4 separate regions of the Homo sapiens genome follow, and all the other regions are linked to region 3. The links are contacts of gene promoters, found by promoter capture Hi-C in blood cells and fetal thymus (Javierre and others, 2016). All regions are on one chromosome and are shown on one strand. The core of a region is centred on a gene start or on the middle of the fragment in contact, and the rest is flanking DNA. Distances in the headings are between cores, read along the strand shown. Region 1 has its middle 200 kb from the start of LINC02344. Region 2 has its middle 220 kb from the start of LINC02344. Region 3 holds the start of ZAR1L (zygote arrest 1 like). Region 4 has its middle 95 kb from the start of RFC3.

Evidence for each region. Contacts are between HindIII fragments. The CHiCAGO score rates a contact against its expected background, and 5 or more counts as called.
Region 1: a fragment that was not itself captured here is called in contact with the fragment with the promoter of ZAR1L in region 3 in 7 of 17 cell types (naive CD8 T cells, total CD4 T cells, non-activated CD4 T cells and 4 more); the score reaches 12.9 in naive CD8 T cells.
Region 2: a contact is called between a fragment that was not itself captured here and the fragment with the promoter of ZAR1L in region 3, in 4 of 17 cell types (total B cells, non-activated CD4 T cells, naive CD8 T cells and 1 more). The highest score is 9.3, in total B cells.
Region 4: a fragment that was not itself captured here is called in contact with the fragment with the promoter of ZAR1L in region 3 in 1 of 17 cell types (non-activated CD4 T cells); the score reaches 5.3 in non-activated CD4 T cells.

What each region holds. Positions count from the first base shown.
Region 1 is chr13:33,531,518-33,534,217 of GRCh38, forward strand. It overlaps a transcript of STARD13 not described here. Among named protein-coding and RNA genes, the nearest start is that of LINC02344, 200 kb to the left of the region's middle. The HindIII fragment of the contact is 7,063 bases long and covers 1-2,700 here.
Region 2 is chr13:33,549,492-33,552,285 of GRCh38, forward strand. It overlaps a transcript of STARD13 not described here. Among named protein-coding and RNA genes, the nearest start is that of LINC02344, 220 kb to the left of the region's middle. The HindIII fragment of the contact is 1,229 bases long and covers 834-2,062 here.
Region 3 is chr13:32,313,785-32,316,612 of GRCh38, forward strand. ZAR1L (zygote arrest 1 like) reads right to left here and starts at 1,579. Exons shown (of 6, transcript NM_001136571.2): 1 at 1,531-1,579; 2 at 546-766. It overlaps BRCA2 (BRCA2 DNA repair associated), which reads left to right and starts at 1,724. Exons shown (of 27, transcript NM_000059.4): 1 at 1,724-1,883; 2 at 2,638-2,743. The coding sequence starts at 2,677. RefSeq lists a silencer at 775-995, a cis regulatory region at 1,114-1,180, a promoter at 1,509-2,005 and an enhancer at 2,114-2,383. The HindIII fragment of the contact is 7,545 bases long and covers 1,303-2,828 here.
Region 4 is chr13:33,722,254-33,724,953 of GRCh38, forward strand. No RefSeq gene overlaps it. Among named protein-coding and RNA genes, the nearest start is that of RFC3, 95 kb to the right of the region's middle. RefSeq lists a silencer at 1,692-1,861. The HindIII fragment of the contact is 499 bases long and covers 1,080-1,578 here.

The sequences.
Region 1 (2,700 bases), core at 115-2,614, 1.2 Mb after region 3:
TGTCTTGTACATTTCCTTCCTTAAGCCTAGAAATAGAAGTTTCTCCTAGAAGACCTGGTTTCTTTAAATAAGGAATTATTTCAAGAACACAATCCAAGCAATAGGGACAGTCATTACCACTGTGTTGGTCATTGTTTCTAGGTGTTTTCAACAGACATAGAGATAGAAAGGGAGAGAAGAGAGTGGTGAGAGAGAGAAACCTCATGAGTTCATATCCAATACTTCCAGTTTGAATGTAAGACTACAGGACTTTTACTTAGTCTCTAATCTATTACATCTGTATCTTTTTTCTTCCAAACTGAGAATCTTGGTTCTCAAGGACACAGACTATGACAGAATTATAATATTCCATAATTACTCATTTGTTTTTTATCTCATATTATACACTTAATAGTCTCAAAATAACAATCCTAATGCTACCACCAACAGAAGTACTGAAAACACTGTAAAAGGTTTTGCATGTGCTGTCCCCCCGTCCCCATCTTTTTAGTGATTATATACTATTTTCTCTTCCTCTTAGCCTTCATTTAGTCTTAGTTCTCCTACGAAGTCTCTATTGCAGCTCAGCACAGTCTATAGGCTGTCGTTCTGCTCACCTGTTACCTGAAGCTCATTTTCTAGCAGGCTCTTCAGGAAGATCTCATAGTCATTGTGCCCTTTTTGCTACAAAGTAAGTTTTTCTGGACACAAAGTGCTTGGCACATACTTTTTTCCCTTGAGAATCTTAATTATGTTACCTTATTTTCTTTTAGCCTAATGTATTGCTAATGAAAAAAACTGAAGTTTATCTAATTATGATCTCTTATAAATCATGTGCTCTTTTCCCCTCTAAATAGTCAAAGGATTTTTAAAAAATTAAAACCCAGTAATTGTGGTAGAGTGTCTTGATATTATAATTCTGGGTTGATCTTTTTAGGTGTATGGAGAACTCTCTCAATATGTAACTTCTAATCTTTTTTATTTCAGGAAAGTTTTCTTGAATAATAATTTTTAGCATTTCTTCTGGTCCCTGGATTTAGTTTTCTTCCTTTATGGCTGTGCTTGTAAGAAATTTTTCTATCTTGAAGTCTGAAAACATTCTGTTTATTTTTGTCAAAGTTGTAATGCTTTGACTTTTACTTGTATGCTATTAATATACCTGGGATACTGTGTGTACAAAATTCCTTTCATGAAAACAGGAGAGAAATTTATGTCATTTGGGTATAAAAAAGTTGTACTTCTGAGCAATTGTTTATTTATATCTCAAGTAATTATGAACTAATCTGATTCATACCTGGTGTCTGATTCCGACATGAGGAATCCAAAGGGTAGCAGTGGTCTTGTAAGATGATTACTGTATTTCCACACAAAACTGGGTCAAGGAAGTACAAGTGGTTCTTGTGGACCAGATGGGCACCTTCCAGGTGAAGAAATCAGCCACAAAATTTTTCCAAAGGGGCTGGGACAATGGGACCCCAACAGAAAGAACCCAGGTGAGGCAAACATATCAGTCACCCATGGCTAAATGTTGGCTTAAGTCCTAAGTGGCCAGTGGGAGAAAGGCCAATCCGAGAATTGTGTCACTGGAGATTCCAGGCAGAGGAACATAAAGAGGTACTTTTAGTGTCAATCAAAGCCCCAAGAATGCCAGTTCCAGATTGTCAGAGTAGTGACCATGTAAACCTGGGTCTTTTCCCCCAGTCCTTTCTACCTAGTAAGACCCTGGAGGATGAGACACTGTAGGTAGCAGACTGGGTGAGGAGCAATAGAGCAAGATATGAAAACAAAAGAGAAGCCAACCCCCACAGGCCTTTCTGCCCATAGCAGGTCTCAGCAGTGGGAAGCAGCTTTAAATTAGGTAAGATTATGAAGCTATGTGATTATAAATGGTCTGAAAGTTCTGAATATTTAAATGAAACTGTTCTTGTGCCAAAAGGTAACCAGAGGATGTTTTATTTTAAAATGATTGGAAATACTATGGCACCCACCTGATAAATCATTCAAAGTAGAGAAGAAATATTCCTTGCACATATTTGAAGGAACAACAGAAAGAAAAAACAAAGCTCTTTTTTTTTTGTTCACCCTATCAAGTTGTTTCCATTCAATAAAATTATTACATCTGGTAAGTAAGTGGATTTATGCTTATATAAACTGAAAAAGGCTAGGAAGTACATGGTAAGATCACATGCAAATTTAAACCAAAGCCTTTGCTTACAATTTCCTTGTATTTGATGTCAATAAAACTTTCAAACACCTGAGCACCTCTTCCATGGAGACTTCCCCAGCCACTCTGATCATGACTGTGAGGACTGGATATAAAGCTCTAGGCACATGTTCAGCCCTTAACAAATGCTGAGTGTTAATTATGCTCTTCTCTGCTCTCACAGCACACATCATCAGAAGGTGTTTTCCATTACATGAATGTGTCTCTTTTCTTCAATTACTCTCAAAGTTCCTAGAAATGAAGGACATATCTTATACTTACTTTATGTTCATCAGAATTCTGGTCAGAACGTTGTGCTTAGGACTTTTCAAAAGTAACTGACAACTGATCAATAAGTAGAGATAAGTGGAGTGATGGTATCACAATAGGAATGCTCTGGGGCAAGCAAGGAAAGCCTACTAGCAACCCTGAAATCACTCTTTTTGTTAGCTGGGTGTACTTTTCACTTTTTCTATACTCTCAGATTTCTCATCAATAGAATGTCTATTTTATGTCCT
Region 2 (2,794 bases), core at 198-2,697, 1.2 Mb after region 3:
GTTTTAACCCATTTGGGGATACTAAATAAACTGCTGTAGTCCTTCAATAAGCCCATCACACATTTTCACCATGTCATCTATAGGCACTTTTTCTACGGTGTTAACATCATCTTCATCATCACTATTATCATAATCACCTTGATTAAGAACCATTTTGGCTATTTCCCCATGGATCAATGAATGAATAATTAGAGCCGCATTATTGCTGGTAAAAACTTACATGACATCTGTTTCTTCCATCTTACTGCCAGACTCTGAAGGTGTATTTTTTTGTATATGTATGGAGGTCAGACATTATTTTTTTTCTCATGTGACATATAGAAACCTTCAAAGTCACCACTTTGTTCATCACCATCACTGAACATAGTTATAGCCCAGAGGTTGTGCCAGGCATGCACAACTGTGTATTTGTCACTGTATTCCAAACATGGGCATTCTTCGTGCTAAACTCCTTTTGAAAACTTTCCACACTCATGCCTCTGTTCACTGTTGCTAGCATGCTGATCAAGAAACTTTTTATATTTATTCTTTATTGATCCAAGAACACCCTAGTCACATGGATGAATTAATGAAGTCACAATTAGGGTAAAATACATGACCTAAACATTTTTAATGAGAATTTCTGCTGGATGATGAGCAGAATCCTTATCAAGCAGTGCCAAAATCTTGCAGTCGTTAATCATTCAGTCTAGATTCCCTACAGCAAGCAAGAGCCACTAGTACCAAATGTTTGTGAAACCAATCAGAAAAGATATCCCTAATTCTCTATGCCTTTTTGTTAGCATAATAATTTACTGGAAAGAAATTTACTCCTTGAAAACAACAAGGATATAAGCTTTTGTCTATCATAGCAAGGTTTTCTTTATGCATGCGTGCTGCATTAGCACATCCCAGAACAGTTATTCTGTCCTTAGCATCCTTAATTCCTATTGAAGCTGTCTCACCAGCTGTAGTCAGTGTTTTTCTGGTGCAATAATGCCGAAACAGTGATGTTTCATCAGCATTACAGACCTGTCCTGGTATCAGATTTTCATCAGTGATGACCTTAGTAACCTCATCAGTGAATATCTCCCTTGCTTCATGATCAGGAAATGGTACAAATCTTCAAAACCTTAACGCTGTGCTTTTTCTTAAATTTATGCAACTAGCCTGTTGAATGTTCACAGTTCCCTTCAATTTTCAGTTCATCGTGATAGATCTTTGCAAGTTTCATGTTCAGCATACCATTAAGTGGCATGTATTCACTGTGACACTGATGGTTCCATTCTTTCAATACATATTCAAGGACTTCATATTTCACTCCATGCATTGCTTTTCTATTTTTCATTAACTTCTGTTCATCACTTTCAGCATAGAACTTCCAACAATGTATCCTTCTCTTTCTTCAGGTCATACATGGTGGTCACTCCAACACTATACTCTTCTATAAGACATTTTCCACTTATACCACCATCCAGTTTCTTCAACAGCTTGACTTTCTGTGCTATAGATAAGTATAAATGCTTCCTCTTTTCTTTACTACTGTTACTCATAAGGGTATCTGCAGATCTTTCTACATTTTCCACAATACCTTTATACCACAGAGAAGAGAATAAGCAAAACAAAACAACATAATGAGTAAGGCATGTAGGTCTTGGCCTCATGTAGGGCATCACAGGCAACCCGCCATTGGTGTGTCTTGCCTGACATGTGCCATTTTATTACCCTTTGTGGATGTGCCTGCATGACGAAGTCTGGGGCATGTGTGGAAAAGATACTTCACAGCTGAAGGGGGCTGGGAGGGTCTCTTTGGAGACATTAAGTAAACTGTGTGTTGTGTATCTGCATTTTGACTGTGATCCATCATATGAGGTCAGGTGTGGAATTTTCAACTTGTGACTTCGTGTCAGCACTCAAAAAGTTTTGGATTTGGGGGAATTTCAGTTTTGGATTTTCAGATTAGGGATGGTTAAGATGTAATTTCATTATGAGTAAATAGATTAAATACTCCAACCAAAAGGCAGAGATTGTCAGGCTGGATTTTGAAAAGCAAGATCCAACTATCTTCTGTCTACAAGAGACAAGCTTTTGCTTTTCCCTTTTTTTTTTTTTTTTTTTTTTTTTTTTTTTTTTTTTTTTTTTTTTTGAGTTGGAGTCTCACTCTGTCAGCCAGGCTGGAGTACAGTGTTGGGATCTTGGCTCCAAGCAACCTCCACCTCCTGGATTCAAGTGATTCTCCTGCCTTATCCTCCTAAGTAGCTGGGATTACAGGTGCCCACCACCATACTGGCTCATTTTTGTATTATTGATAGAGGCAGGGTTTCACCATGTTGGCCAGGCTGGTCTTGAGCTCCTGACCTCAGGTGATCCACTCACCTTGGCCTCCCAAAGTGCTGGGATTATAGGCATGAGCCACCACAGGTTGCCATGAGACAGACTTTAGATTCAAAAATTTAGTCTGAAAGTTAAAAGGATGGAAAATGATATATCATACAAACAGTAACCATTAAAGACCTGCAGTGAATACACTAATATTAGACAAAATACACTTTGAGACAAAAATAAATAAAATACTTGAGACAAAGAGTACATTTCATAATGATAAGGGGGTTAATTCAACAGGAAAATAGAAAAGTTATATATATACCTCAGATTTCCCCAAGTACATGGAGCAATAAATCACAGAACTAAAGAGAGATATAGACAATAATAATTGGAGACTTCAACACCCCAATCTCGATAATTGATGAACAACTAGATACAAAATTAGCAAGGATATGTTTTGTATCACTTAACACTTACACAACACGATCAG
Region 3 (2,828 bases), core at 329-2,828:
TGCAAGTCCCTGGTACAAAGAGAACAAGAAACATAAAGGTATGGGGGGCTGTATAAAATGACAGAAAATGTTATTTCTGAGACTTGTGTGACATGCCACGGGTTCTCATTAGTCCACTCCTAGTGAGACACCCCTCCCCCACAAAAAGGGGACAAAGCATATTGTTCTGATTTATAGGGTAAATAAATCACAGGTTAGTTAAGTGTATGAAGTCAAATGGACTAGAATTCAAACCTGGGCCTTACTACCAGGCACATTACTTAACTACTTGATTCAGTATCCTCATCTGACAATACTGACCAATTTACAGGATTACTGTAAGATTAAACATGGTATTGCTTGAAAACCCAAAGCAGAATGCCTAACTCATAAAATGTTTGGTAAGTGGCAGCTGTTATTAGTAAGGATCACAGACGTATTTCTTTGCGAATTAGACTTAGAGCAAAAGCTTTAGAATCTATCTGCATTAGTAAGGCCTCCTTCTACAACTAAGGATTACTGATTATCAAACTAAAATGGTCCCTAAGGAACCAAGCGGAGCCCACCCTTTTCCTAATCCAAGGTTGCTTCTGTTTACTGCTCAAGCACCTTCTGGAAGCAGCAAGGCCCCCATGGGAGCAACTCTCACTGAATCCATTTGAAGGTTTTGTAGGTCTTACAACAAACCCTATTCAGCCTTGTATTAGGCATGTTACAGAACCAACGAATTCGGAGATGAAGTCAGGTCTTCCAGTTCAGCCTGCGAGGAAGACAGGTGATCCGAATCCTAAGAATGCAAAAGATGGGCCGGGTGTGGTGGCTCATGCCTGTAATCCCAGCGCTTTGGGAGGCCGAGGCAGGCAGATCACCTGAGGTCGGGAGGTTGAGACCAGACTGACCAACAACGGAGAAACCCCGTCTCTACTTAAAAATGCAAAGTTAGCCGTGCGTGGTGGCCCATGCCTGTATTCCCAGCTACTCGGGAGGCTGAGGCAGGAGAACCACTTGATCCCTGGAGGCGGAAGTTGCGGTGAGCGGAGATTGCGCCATTGCACACCAGCCCGGGCCACAAGAGCGAAACTCCGTCTCAAAAAAAAAAGCAAAAGATACTACCAAGCCCTGCGGAGCAAGGTACCTCACACTTCATGAGCGAGTTAAGATGGGTTTCACAATTTTTCAAGCAAGGAAACGGGCTCGGAGGTCTTGAACACCTGCTACCCAATAGCAGAACAGCTACTGGAACTAAAATCCTCTGATTTCAAATAACAGCCCCGCCCACTACCACTAAGTGAAGTCATCCACAACCACACACCGACCACTCTAAGCTTTTGTAAGATCGGCTCGCTTTGGGGAACAGGTCTTGAGAGAACATCCCTTTTAAGGTCAGAACAAAGGTATTTCATAGGTCCCAGGTCGTGTCCCGAGGGCGCCCACCCAAACATGAGCTGGAGCAAAAAGAAAGGGATGGGGGACTTGGAGTAGGCATAGGGGCGGCCCCTCCAAGCAGGGTGGCCTGGGACTCTTAAGGGTCAGCGAGAAGAGAACACACACTCCAGCTCCCGCTTTATTCGGTCAGATACTGACGGTTGGGATGCCTGACAAGGAATTTCCTTTCGCCACACTGAGAAATACCCGCAGCGGCCCACCCAGGCCTGACTTCCGGGTGGTGCGTGTGCTGCGTGTCGCGTCACGGCGTCACGTGGCCAGCGCGGGCTTGTGGCGCGAGCTTCTGAAACTAGGCGGCAGAGGCGGAGCCGCTGTGGCACTGCTGCGCCTCTGCTGCGCCTCGGGTGTCTTTTGCGGCGGTGGGTCGCCGCCGGGAGAAGCGTGAGGGGACAGATTTGTGACCGGCGCGGTTTTTGTCAGCTTACTCCGGCCAAAAAAGAACTGCACCTCTGGAGCGGGTTAGTGGTGGTGGTAGTGGGTTGGGACGAGCGCGTCTTCCGCAGTCCCAGTCCAGCGTGGCGGGGGAGCGCCTCACGCCCCGGGTCGCTGCCGCGGCTTCTTGCCCTTTTGTCTCTGCCAACCCCCACCCATGCCTGAGAGAAAGGTCCTTGCCCGAAGGCAGATTTTCGCCAAGCAAATTCGAGCCCCGCCCCTTCCCTGGGTCTCCATTTCCCGCCTCCGGCCCGGCCTTTGGGCTCCGCCTTCAGCTCAAGACTTAACTTCCCTCCCAGCTGTCCCAGATGACGCCATCTGAAATTTCTTGGAAACACGATCACTTTAACGGAATATTGCTGTTTTGGGGAAGTGTTTTACAGCTGCTGGGCACGCTGTATTTGCCTTACTTAAGCCCCTGGTAATTGCTGTATTCCGAAGACATGCTGATGGGAATTACCAGGCGGCGTTGGTCTCTAACTGGAGCCCTCTGTCCCCACTAGCCACGCGTCACTGGTTAGCGTGATTGAAACTAAATCGTATGAAAATCCTCTTCTCTAGTCGCACTAGCCACGTTTCGAGTGCTTAATGTGGCTAGTGGCACCGGTTTGGACAGCACAGCTGTAAAATGTTCCCATCCTCACAGTAAGCTGTTACCGTTCCAGGAGATGGGACTGAATTAGAATTCAAACAAATTTTCCAGCGCTTCTGAGTTTTACCTCAGTCACATAATAAGGAATGCATCCCTGTGTAAGTGCATTTTGGTCTTCTGTTTTGCAGACTTATTTACCAAGCATTGGAGGAATATCGTAGGTAAAAATGCCTATTGGATCCAAAGAGAGGCCAACATTTTTTGAAATTTTTAAGACACGCTGCAACAAAGCAGGTATTGACAAATTTTATATAACTTTATAAATTACACCGAGAAAGTGTTTTCTAAAAAATGCTTGCTAAAAACCCAGTACGTCACA
Region 4 (2,700 bases), core at 79-2,578, 1.4 Mb after region 3:
TCCTGAGAAACAATTTAATTAGACCTGTAAATGGCTCTTAAAGTACAAATAATGAGAACCAACTATTTGGAAGTGACTTCAAGACTGGCTTGCAAAGAGTGTATAAGTTTCTATTTGATGGTGTAATTACCCATTTGCAAGAGTCACATACACAGGCCAAATCTCCTAATTGATTTACTTAGTAACATGTAACATTGAGGTCACATTACATTAGCAAGGGGAAATGGAAGGCAGAATTATTTACCTTGATACTATAAACGAGAATAAACAAATGATACTTCAATTATCTGATTCTTTCAAATGAGACATTTGAGGTATAAGAATCTGAATTGCATTGTTACTGAATTTCACATTGATACTAGACAGTCTCAGAGTCAGAAAGCCAACGTTTTACATAGAGACTTTAGAGACATTTTTGTCTGTGTAAGTAACTTTTATACAGCTCAATTTGCCAGTATGTGACTTATCTATTTATACATGGGCCAAGTACTTGACTAGTTTTTTAACTTTCCAGTTTTATAAAAATGAAAGTGAAAGAGTCCAAATACTATTTTCATAACTGTCAACTAATTCATAGTTACAGTAACCAGAAAATAGAATAGCGTGTAGGCATTGGACTGAACACAAGGACTTTATTGGATTTTCTTTACTATAATAATATTCCTGGACTTCCCAATTTCATGTGCTTGAAAAATTTAGAAAACATCTTGCTGTAAATCCATACTGCAGATTACTCAAAGGCTTGGGAATATGATTCAAGAGGAAATTCTTTAGATCTGGGATAATTCACTTCTATTTTTCAAGGGCTTTTGTTTTAAGGATACCTGGAAAATCATAAAATCAGATGGGATTTAAGAGTTATTTAATCTAGTGGTACCTATGCACCAGTCATTAGATCTGTGCTGGGCTGCCTGCCTACACATTTTTAGCTAATTTCCATGTCTTCAGACAAGAAAAATGTTTTCCAAGGAAAACAGTTCTTTTGGATTTTTTTTTAAGTGCAATTTCTGGGCCCTGCCCTAGATTTTCTGACTGAGCAAATTTATAGGCAAGGCCCTGGAATCTGTATTTTTTTAAAAAGCTTCCCCGGTGATTTTGAGATCCAGCCATTTGTGGAAACCCACTGATGTTAGTCCAATCTCTTTGTTTTCCAGATGCAAAATCTGAGGCCCACCTTGTCCCAGCTAAGCAAGTGAGGGAGAGGAATCCAGAGCCCTGACTTGTAATTCATTTTTTTTTTGTGTGCTTCTCATTCACTAGGCACATCTGCTGATCAAATCCTTCCCATACCCTCTGGATTCAGAACAAGAGGAAGTGCACATATGTCCACAACAATTTCCCAACACTAGGGAGTATTGATTTGCTGGGGGAGCAAGTGGCATCTCCCTCCCTGGAAAATTTTAAAACCAAAAGAAAAAGTTTAACTGGCTGATAATTTATAAATGAAATCCTCTCTGAAGATAGGAAGATGGGCTAGATAATGTTTTATCTCTTCTAGCCCTAACTTTCCATGCTCCTATAATTTAGTAACAAAAGGAACCCATGCACTTTCTTTTTTTTTAAGACAGTTTCTCCAGAAGCTTCCATGTGTGGAGAAACTTACTCTCTTCCTCCTTCTTCTATTTATCTTTTCTTATCTGAAAGGAGGACTACACTGTAAACATCTACATATGCAAAACCCATGCCTTTGGTACACACCTACCACTTTCAGATCAAACCGACAGCCTAAGTGGCCAGGCTGGCAGCTGGTTTAGGATAAATACAACAGCACCACCTTGTGTTGCGTTTCTGGGAGAATTTACCACTTCAGCAGGACAAAGACTTGGGCCGGGATGGGTGGCTCAGGATACAGCAACTATTCCTTTACTTTCCCTGCTGGGAGCAAATGCTAGCCATTTCGAAAAACCTTTTTGTTTGTTATCAGCCTACAATTTTCTTCTATAAATTCTGTAATTTTTAAAATATAAAAGGTAGCTGAGAAATGGAAATGCAGAAATAAACATATATTAATAAAAGCCTGGGTAAGCACAGTGCTATAGTAAATATTGTAGAGAAAAAGTTAATGTCAGCTTTTATTGCAAAAGACTTGATAGTAAATGTACATTTAATGCTATTGTGATTTAACACTTTCTCTAAAGATTCTCCCATATTTGGGGAGGTAGCTTTTAAACTATGTATTTGCCTATTAAGGGAAGAAAAGAATGTTTCACTTTCTCATAACCATTCTGGGTGAGCCTGGATAAAGTCTTTGTTTTCCCCAAGTATAGTTGTAGATTCACATATATAAATATATATAGATATATATGAATATATATATAATATTCATATTATACCTTGTATTCCCCAAGCATGGTTGTAGATTCATATACTATATGTGTACATATATAATATACATATGCACATATATATTTGCATCTTTGCTGTGGAGCAAGCTAAAAATTTAATATGTGAATATCAACATGGGACTGAAAGACCATAAAGACCAGAAAATCGACATATTTGCTAAACAAATATGTCAAATGTCTGATATTTTCAACAGAAAGAACATGACTAATTAAGGAAGATTATTTCCAGTTGTAATTTGAAATGTCAAGATTAGTGTAACAAATCAGCAATTCTTTGTCTCTGAAATCATCTGGAAAATTGAGCTAAGGCCTTACAAGCTACACATTATTATGGGAAGAGAAGTTACAGGATTAG